Regions from separate parts of the Homo sapiens genome. Here all the other regions are linked to region 1. Evidence: promoter capture Hi-C in 16 types of primary human blood cells and fetal thymus (Javierre and others, 2016). All regions are on one chromosome and are shown on one strand. Each heading gives the region's core, a stretch centred on a gene start or on the middle of the fragment in contact. The rest is flanking DNA. Distances are from core to core; before and after follow the strand shown.

Region 1 (2,965 bases), core at 413-2,912:
CCCCAGCTTCTCAAGAGGATACTTGGAGGAGGGAGAGGTCCCAAAGCACAGATCATTTGACACTCTCCTCAACCTGCCCCACTCCCCACACGTGCCGTTTATTCAAGCCATCACAGAAAAAGTGATGGCAAGAAGAGAAGGGAGGGCAGTGGGAGGATGAAGCATGGATTGGGGTTCACTTGGTCAGATTGTCCAGTGTTGAACAGCTTGGGGAACTGAAAGGCAGGCACCTCCAAATGACAGTGGAACTGAAAGGCAGGCACCTCCAAATGACAGTGGCCAAGCCTCACATGCACAAAGGAGTTGCAGGGCAGAGCTCAGGAAGAGGGGGGAAGGCACAAGATGCTTTTTATGGCATCTTGGACCTTGAGAGTTCGCTGCTGACATAAGCCTTACTGGAAGCTGCCATCCTCTGCACACTGGGGCACGTAGTCTGCTTGCTTCAGAAAGGCCGTTTCCCTCTGCAGCTCACAGGGACGAAGGGGCTGGGCATCCACCTGGTACTCTAGGAAAAGAAAAGTGGTTCATCAAAGAAGAGTGTGGACTGGGCTGCCAGGACAGAGACGGGCTCTCATAAGCACAGATGCTTTTCCAGGGTCATCATCATTACCTATGACAGCCTATTTTAAAATTTGGCAGCTAAGCACACTTTCTTACAAGTATGACATTAGCTCATTTAATGTGCAACATTCTCCTAAGAGGTGACAGGCAATATATCCTTGTCACTCATGAGGCACCAAGTCTCAGGCAGCGAAAGTCGTCTGCCCAAAGTCACGTAACTGGCAAGTGAAGGATCCCAAAATCAACGCTGGGACTACACGTTCCCCGCCCGCCCCCACCCTGCCGCAATTCCCATGAGGCTATTTGGAGTAAGTTAGAGAACCGTAAGGAAGTTCTTCTTGAATCTATCAAGCCATGCCCTGCAGATGTAACATGTTCCAGATAAACATTGAAATACCAATTAATTAATAATGTACATGACTTATTTTTCCATTGAGAACTCTTGTAACACATAGGGTCCTACCCAGAAATCACAACCGCATCATGAGGTGTGTGTTATTTGTTTACTTTTTAAATGAAAAAAAAAAAAAAAAAACAGAAGCTTGGCACTTTGCCCGAAGTCATATGGGTAAGTGGCTGAGCCAAAGACAGAACTTAGGGCTATTTCACTTCATAGGTAGATTTCTTTTTCTACTGCTTCTAAAATACCTGTTATGGATGACACAGACTTTGGAATAGCTAAGGGGATAAAAACCCAAGGTCAATGCCAAAAGTTTGCCAAAATGGTGGGGTGAGGAGGACCTAGAATTGAATTAGGAAGATCAACCACATTTCCCATTTCTGCTCCATCAATCACTAGCTCTGTGACCTCAAGTAATTCAGTTCGGCTCTCTAAATCTGCCTCTTCATCTGAAAAAAAAAAAGCAAATCACTGACATGTGGGAATTTGTGAAGATTAAATTAGATCGCACCTGTTCGAAGGCCCAGGGCAGAGCCTGGCTGACACTGGAGCTCCCTCCCCACCGCCTGGCTCCATGGCCTCAGAACTTACCGAAGATATTGGCCGACACCCAGCAGATGGAGGCCAGCAGGGTGAAGATCTCCAGGACCAGGGCCATTTTCCTGGCCCTTCCTGGGAGGAAGGAGGAGAAACCACTGCTTGCCCTAGGTCCCCTGGCCAGGGAGCTTTTATAGAGCTGCCGTTGGCACTTTCCTTCCCACCCCCAGGTCCTCAGTGAGGCAGTGCCCCATCCTGTTTTCTCTGCTGGTCAAAAGGAGCTCCCTCCACCTGTGTCTACTCCTCCTGAGGGCACTCGTGTGGCCAGTGGAGCATGAGGATCTTGTCTAAACTGTGGGGGAACAGAACGGGGTGGGGTGACTTCAAAATCCTTTTTTATGGGTAAAGACCAAAGCTCTGTATCTTTGGAGGGAACAGGCTCAAGCCCACAGTGAGGGAAAAGCAATCCTTTGTTCTTTCCTTCCCCACCCTACCCTTTCTCCTTCTCCTTCCTCCTTCCTTCTTTCCTTTCTTCCTTTCTTTCTTCTTTCCTTCCTTTCTCCCTTCTATCCTTCTTTCCTTTCATTCTTCCTTCTTTCTTTCCTTCCTTCCCTCTTTCTTTTCTTTCTTCCTTCTTTCCTTCCTTCCTTCTTTTCTTTCTTCTATTCTTTCTCTAACAACCTCTTAGAGCTCCACAGTAGCAGGCACCTAATCTAGACAATGAGGATATGGCAGAGAACAAAACAGGCAAAATCGTGCCCTCATTAATATAGACTGTGAAAACTTTGGTGAGGGAAGCAAAATACACACACACTCATATTCATATTTCTATTACTTTCCTCTCTTTCCTAGGACCTCAGACTTTGTCAACCAAAAGATAGCAGGAACTGTGTATTCCACAGAAAGCCTGTATGTCCATTTGGTTTCTCCTGGCAAACATGGCTTCCTTCCTTCAGTCCTGTTCCTGTGAGACCTGGAAAAACTCACCTCATCTCCCTGAGCCCCAGCCTCCTTCTCTGGAAAGCAAAGTTAAAAGGAGAATAATAATATGTCCCTATTTGTTAAGGTAGTTGTAAGAGAATAGACATTGAAGAGCACATGCTTATTAGACACTAGCAGTTATTATTATTATTATTGATTTTCTTATTTTGCAAAAGCATCATGCCAGGGAATGGCAAGTATTCAGAAGACCAATCCAGCCAGGTAAGGAGCTAGTGACAGATAGGGTCAGGAACTGGCAGGTAATGAGGGCAGGTTGCTGAGCCTGGCACCTGAGGAGAGATGGAGGGACCTGTGAGAATCTGGAGGATATGGTCCCGGGTAGAGTGAAGGGCAGGAGGACAAGCTGGAAAGTGGAAGAGACTCCAAACCCTGGGGAAAATAAAGGGGCCGATATAGCTGCCGTGCCGTAGACTGTACTACCTTCCACAAATAGGGTTGCTATGAATATTAAATGTGTTAAAATAT
Region 2 (2,930 bases), core at 274-2,773, 270 kb before region 1:
TGCCTACACCACCACCCCCACATCCCCAAATACTCTGCGCCAAGCTTGCTTATTTATTTATTTATTTATTTGAGATGGAGTCTCACTCTGTGGCCCAGGCTGGAGTGTAGTGGCATGATCTCGGGTCACTCAACCTCCGCCTCCTGGGTTCAAGCAATTGTCTGCCTCAGCCTCCTGAGTAGCTGGGATTACAGGCGTCTGCCACCACACCTGGCTATTTTTTTTTTGTTTTTTTTGGTATTTTTAGTAGAGATGGGGTTTCACCATCTTAGCCAGGCTGGTCTTGAACTCCTGACCTCGTGATCCACCTGCCTTGGCCTCCCAAAGTGCTGGGATTACAAGAGTGAGCCACTGTGCCCGGCCACCAAGCTTATTTTTATTTGTCCTTTGGTTTTCAGCTTGGGGTCTCCTCTCTGGAGAACATCCACTAATATGACTTGGGTACCCTTCTTCTGCTCCTGAAGCCTCCCCTTTATTTTATCCCTATTATCACAAGTATTCCACAGAATTGTGATTGGCTCTTTACTTGCCTGCGTCTCCCTCTAGACTTGGGGCTCCTCAAGCATAGGGAGCTTTAATCATTGTGCCTTCAGCACCAAACAAGGGGCCCGGTCCAAAGTGATGAATGAGCTCAACAGAAGTAGATTCTGGTCATGAAAATGTCTTCTAATTATTGTTCACCATTTCTAATTATGCAGAGCATTTAATTCTCTTGCTTTTTAAGAACCTCACAATACTGTTAGGAAAGGAATTAGTTATCTACATTTTCCACGTTAAGCTAATGCCCAGATTGGTGAAGGGGTTTGTTCTGAATCATCCAGTTGGTGAGAAGCTGAGTCAGGACTCAAAGGCCTGTCAAGCTCCAGATATCCATATTCTTTCCTTTATATCCAAAGCCTTAAAGCAGTGATATCACAAACCTGGACAAGACCATCAGGATATTATAAAAACATGCAAATTCCTTGAAGATGTGATAAAGACACAGAATTCAAGGAATTGAGAGAGAAAAAAAGAAGGGAGGAAGGAAAGGAGGGAGAGAGAGAAAGAGGAAAGAAAAACAATTATAAAGTCTAGATAGAACAATAAGATGCAACATAATATTACATATATTATATAATATTACAATGTGATCTTCAGGTAAACAATGTTCCTCTTTAAATGCCCAGGGGTTATAACATGTACTAAGAGAGTACAAACTATGATTTTAACCATGTTGCTTGGCCTGTAAACTATATATGTAACATTGGCAGACCCCAGGTATTAGTCAGTTCCCCATGGGTGTTGGTTAGGATAACAATACATATATATAGCCTTAATACAGCAAATAAGGTTAACTGGCCTTCGGCTGTTGGAACTGACCTGTGGAACAAAGCTCAGAAGGCTGATTTGAGACTGCAGGACAAAGTAAGTCTAAGAGTGTGGACATTAAAGAGAAGGGGTGTTAAGGGATGAGGCCAAAGAGGGAAGAAGGAGGGGTGGGGGTATAAGCATGGTGCCGTAGCTTGAATGTCCCCTCCAAAACTCATGTTGAAATTTAATAGCCAATGTAATAGTATTGAGAGGTGGAGCCTTTAAGAAGCCTTCATAGTAGCCCTCATGAATGGATTAATGCTGTTGTCGTGGGAATTATCCTGAGAGTGGGCTCCTGATAAATGGATAAGTTTGGCCCCACTTCTGTGTTTCTCAAAACTCGCTTCTGCCTTCTGCTAGATGCCAGTGCTATGCTGTTGAACTTTCCAGTCTCCAGAACCACAGGCCAAATAAACTTCTGTTCTTTATAAATTACCTAGTCTGTGGTATTCTGTTATGGCAGCAGAAAATGGACTAAGACAGATATAGGTATGCTCATCATTTATGTAGAAAGGCAGAAAATAATTAGAAAATGTATGGAATACAAAAGAGAATTTTTTTTTTTTAGAATTAAAAAGAAATCTCAAGAAGGAATAAAAATGTACTGTTGGAAGTATAGGAGGTGGGTGGTATAAGTGAGCTAAACCCTCATTTTTCTCCGAAAGGACTCAATAGGTCTAGATAAAGCTGATAAGTCACAAACAGAGGTAAACTCACACTATCTAGACTTCTGGGGTGACTGAACTAAGATGGGAACTGTTAGAAGAAGTTGCTTCTGGAAAATAGATTTATGGCAGACAGGAGGACCACATAAGACATTTCCTATGTAGAAGTATTATTTATTTGAACCTTTAGGTTTATGAGTGCTATATTACATCTATTTATTCTAAAAAATTTGGGAACAGGAATCTGCATTTTAATCAGCTACTCAGGTAACTTTTATGCTCTCAGCCCTGTCTTGGAACCATTGCCTATGGCTTTGGATGGCCTGGGAGGGGCTGTTCTTGTCTCCCCAGCTTCAGTGAGGACCTGGGGAATCTCTGAGCTTTGGGCATTTCTGCTGCCTTTGAAAAGGGGCTTGGAAGCTGGGGAACCTTGCAGGGTTACTTCATAACTTCCCTTTGAAAAGATCACTTGCTTCATCTTCCTGTAATTCCTGGTTGCTTCTAACTCAGGAGGAAGTTGACTCAGTCTCATGAGTGAGCTCCCAGATAATTTCTTCATTTTGTTTCTTAATTCATGCCTTGCAGATTGTGAATATCACTCTGGTTCTCGATGCGAGGTGATGTCTCATTCACCTCTTGACTTTTGGTTGACCCTAAGCTTGATGTGGGTGTACTGTGACCTTCCTGTCCTTTAAAGATGGAGAAAAGAGATTATGACACCTTTACAGTTGCCCTGATGTACACTCATGTTTGCCCATTGCAGTTGGGAATGGGTTATGCAATCCCATGTGACTTCAAGAGGAATCTCTGCAACACATGAAAGATGCAGTGGGAGTCCAGAGCCCAGAGTTCTGGAAGCCAGGTCTGAGAGGGCTGACCGTGGGGCCTGGGGCATTACCTTCCCCTACTTGTCTT
Region 3 (2,923 bases), core at 361-2,860, 290 kb before region 1:
ACTTTTAGTGCTTAATAATATGTTATGGAAATCTAATAATATAATCCAAATACAGTCTCTTAAATAATCACATAATGCACCATGGCATAATGTAGCATTATTTGTTTAAACCTTCACCTGACTGTGTGTGTTTGTATCTTGATGTGCTGATGTTTAATTTCTATGGAATTGAGTCACAAAAGTAGAATTGCTGGATAAAAGAATATATGTGTGTTAGTTCATTCTCACACTGCTACAAAGAACTACCTGAGTCTGAGTAATTTATGACGAAAGCAGGTTTCATTGACTCACAATTCTTCAGACTTAATAGGAAGCATGACTGGGAGGCCTCAGGAAACTTACAATCTTGGTGAAAGGCGAAGGGGAAGCAAGGCACCTTCATCACATGGCAGAGCAGGAGGAAGAGTGAGAGAGCGAAGCGGGAAGGGCCACACACTTAAAATTCAGCAAATCTCGTGAGAACTCACTGTCACGAGAACAGCGTGGGGGAAATCCGCCCCCATGATCCAATCACCATCCACCTGGTCCCTCCCCTGAAACATGGGGATTAAAATTTAAAATGAGATTTGGGTGGGAACACAGAGCCAAACCATATTAATATGTTTTACAGTTTTAATAGATGTTGCCCTATTGATTTATACAAATGCTGTGACAATTTGCATTTCCACCAGCAATATATGCAAACGTTCTTTTCATGGAACACTTACCAGCAACAAGTGTTAATGCTCTTTTTAGGTATGCCAGCTGGATGAATGTAAAATAATGTCTCATTAATTACATGAAATTTATATTAATTTTTATTTCCCTGACTTCTAGTGAATTTAAGTATCTTTTACTATGTTTATTGTTCATTTGGATTGCTTTATTTTACACTTTTTCCTATTTTTTATTGGGTGGTTTGTGTTTTTCCTGTCAATTTGTAGTACGAATCTTTGAATATTACAGCTCTTCATTCTCTACCTGTCCTTATTGTCTGTGGCAGTAAAGTTTGTATATTGGATTAAATTAACTCTCTAGTAACCCTCTGCATTGGTTAACCAAAGAAAAATGCTCTATGCCTCAAATCTATTTCCCTCCCATTTTTCTACCTATACTCGTCTCTATTTTCCTTCACTGTCCTGGGAAGTATCAGGGTAGATAGAAAGGAGGAAACAGACATTTATAAGCACATTCTACTTGCCAGTGAATTAATGGGTAGTTTATATGTTACATCATTTAATTAAATAAAATTAAAATATTTTTAATCACCATTTTACTGATGGGAATACAGAGGCTCAGAGAGGTTAATTTACTTCTCAAGGTTGGGTTAAGGAAATGTCAGAGATAAGATTTGAACCTGTATCTATCTGGTTCTAAAGTGTTCTTTCAGATGCCCTCCTCAGGCTGCTAGTCTCATGGGAGACTCACAGCCACCCTAAGGGACCATGGGGCAGGCTTCCTCATCCTCTTTCCACAGGCAAGAGCCCTGCACTCAGAGCAGCTGAATGACATGGTCAGGGACACAAACTGAGATTGCAAACCTACAGCTTCTGTCTTTAAACCTGGAACTGTTTTGAATCTGGTGTCTGTCCACCTCTTTTCTCTTGAGTTAGGAGCATTGGGGTAGGTTGGCATGGGGGAGCCACTCGGCATCTCATGTCCTTCAGTGAATTCTCTGCTATCCAGAGCCACAGAGGTAGCACATGATTTGCCAAGGGACTGCAAGGACCTCTCCCTCTCTTCAGCAGATCTTCCCCTCTGAGGGCTTCGGTGGGCAGGAGAGAGAGGAGAAACACACATAACGGAGGAGCTCTGAAATCCCCGGGCCAAAAATAACCTCCTTTCCCCCAACCTCCACTCCCACCCTCCATCCAAGGGGAGTGGCGGCAAAGTTTCAGAAACTCTGAAATGACTCAAAGAAACAGAAAAGTGTTCTAGTTGTCCAATATTTACATAAGGAGCTGGTTCAGTTTTCCTTTCCTGCTGTTAACATCTGAGCTGGCACACAGACGTGGACACCTGCCCACATCCACCAATAGATGTGCACCTGGATGCACGTGTGTTGTACATGCAGACACAGTGTGTACGGCACCCATCCCCACACACCTCAGGCTGCAGCACAGCAGTGAGTGGCAGCCAGGGCTGCTGGGAGGTGTCCATCCCCAGGCTCAAGCTGTGTGTCTTTGTTCTTCACACCAGAGTCTACTGTTGGGTTTCTTCAGAAGCAGCCTCTGCAATAAGAATATGAGTGCAAGGGATTTGTAAGGCAGGTGATCTGAGCAATGCCACTAAGGGAATGGGCAGGTGAGGCAGGGACTTAAAGGAAACCAGTCAGGGAACATTGTCAACTCACAGCAGTGACCATGGGCAACCAGGTCACAATTCCACTGTGGTGTTCTGGGAGAAGGTGGATGGCACACCTCAGAATTGCCTCACTCAAGATGGAGGAAGCTGAAATATGCACCAATCAACTCCCTTTCTGCTGTGGTTGAGGATTGCTTCCTGGAGATTACTGTGGCAAGAGAAACATGAGCTTCCATATTACCTTGTATAATGCACAGGGCAAGAACCCAGCCAGGCCAAGAAACATGCTCTTTACATCCAAAAAAAGGCTTCAATCCTAGCTCTGTTTCTTGCCTATTTGATACCTTGAATAATTTCTTCCCTCTGAGCCTCTAATTCTCTTATCTATAAAATGGGTAGGATACTTTCCCCGACAAGATTGGAATAGGGATTTGATGAAATAATGCAGGTCAATGAACTTGCCCAAGATTGGCTCTCAAAAGAGACTGATATTTTGTCTCACCACCTACATTGCTTTCATTGTTTGCTGGTTTCCCTTTATCTTTCGAACCTCTGTTAGGATGCCCAGGGCTCAGTCTTCAGGCCTCTACTCTTGTCTAGGACACATGCCCTTGGCGATCTCATCCAACTTCAAAGCCTT

Evidence for each region. The method cuts DNA at HindIII sites, captures the fragments that hold promoters and counts their contacts. A CHiCAGO score of 5 or more calls a contact.
Region 2: a contact is called between a fragment that was not itself captured here and the fragment with the promoter of TG in region 1, in 5 of 17 cell types (M2 macrophages, activated CD4 T cells, naive CD4 T cells and 2 more). The highest score is 7.3, in M2 macrophages.
Region 3: a fragment that was not itself captured here is called in contact with the fragment with the promoter of TG in region 1 in 1 of 17 cell types (naive CD8 T cells); the score reaches 5.5 in naive CD8 T cells.

What each region holds. Positions count from the first base shown.
Region 1 is chr8:132,865,655-132,868,619 of GRCh38, reverse strand. TG (thyroglobulin) reads right to left here and starts at 1,662. Exons shown (of 48, transcript NM_003235.5): 1 at 1,553-1,662; 2 at 397-505. The coding sequence starts at 1,619. The HindIII fragment of the contact is 3,355 bases long and covers 1,105-2,965 here.
Region 2 is chr8:133,139,362-133,142,291 of GRCh38, reverse strand. No RefSeq gene overlaps it. Among named protein-coding and RNA genes, the nearest start is that of SLA, 38 kb to the right of the region's middle. The HindIII fragment of the contact is 2,304 bases long and covers 372-2,675 here.
Region 3 is chr8:133,157,335-133,160,257 of GRCh38, reverse strand. It overlaps LOC105375769 (a long non-coding RNA gene), which reads right to left. Exons shown (of 3, transcript XR_928667.4): 2 at 2,086-2,210. Among named protein-coding and RNA genes, the nearest start is that of CCN4, 32 kb to the left of the region's middle. The HindIII fragment of the contact is 6,458 bases long and covers 1-2,923 here.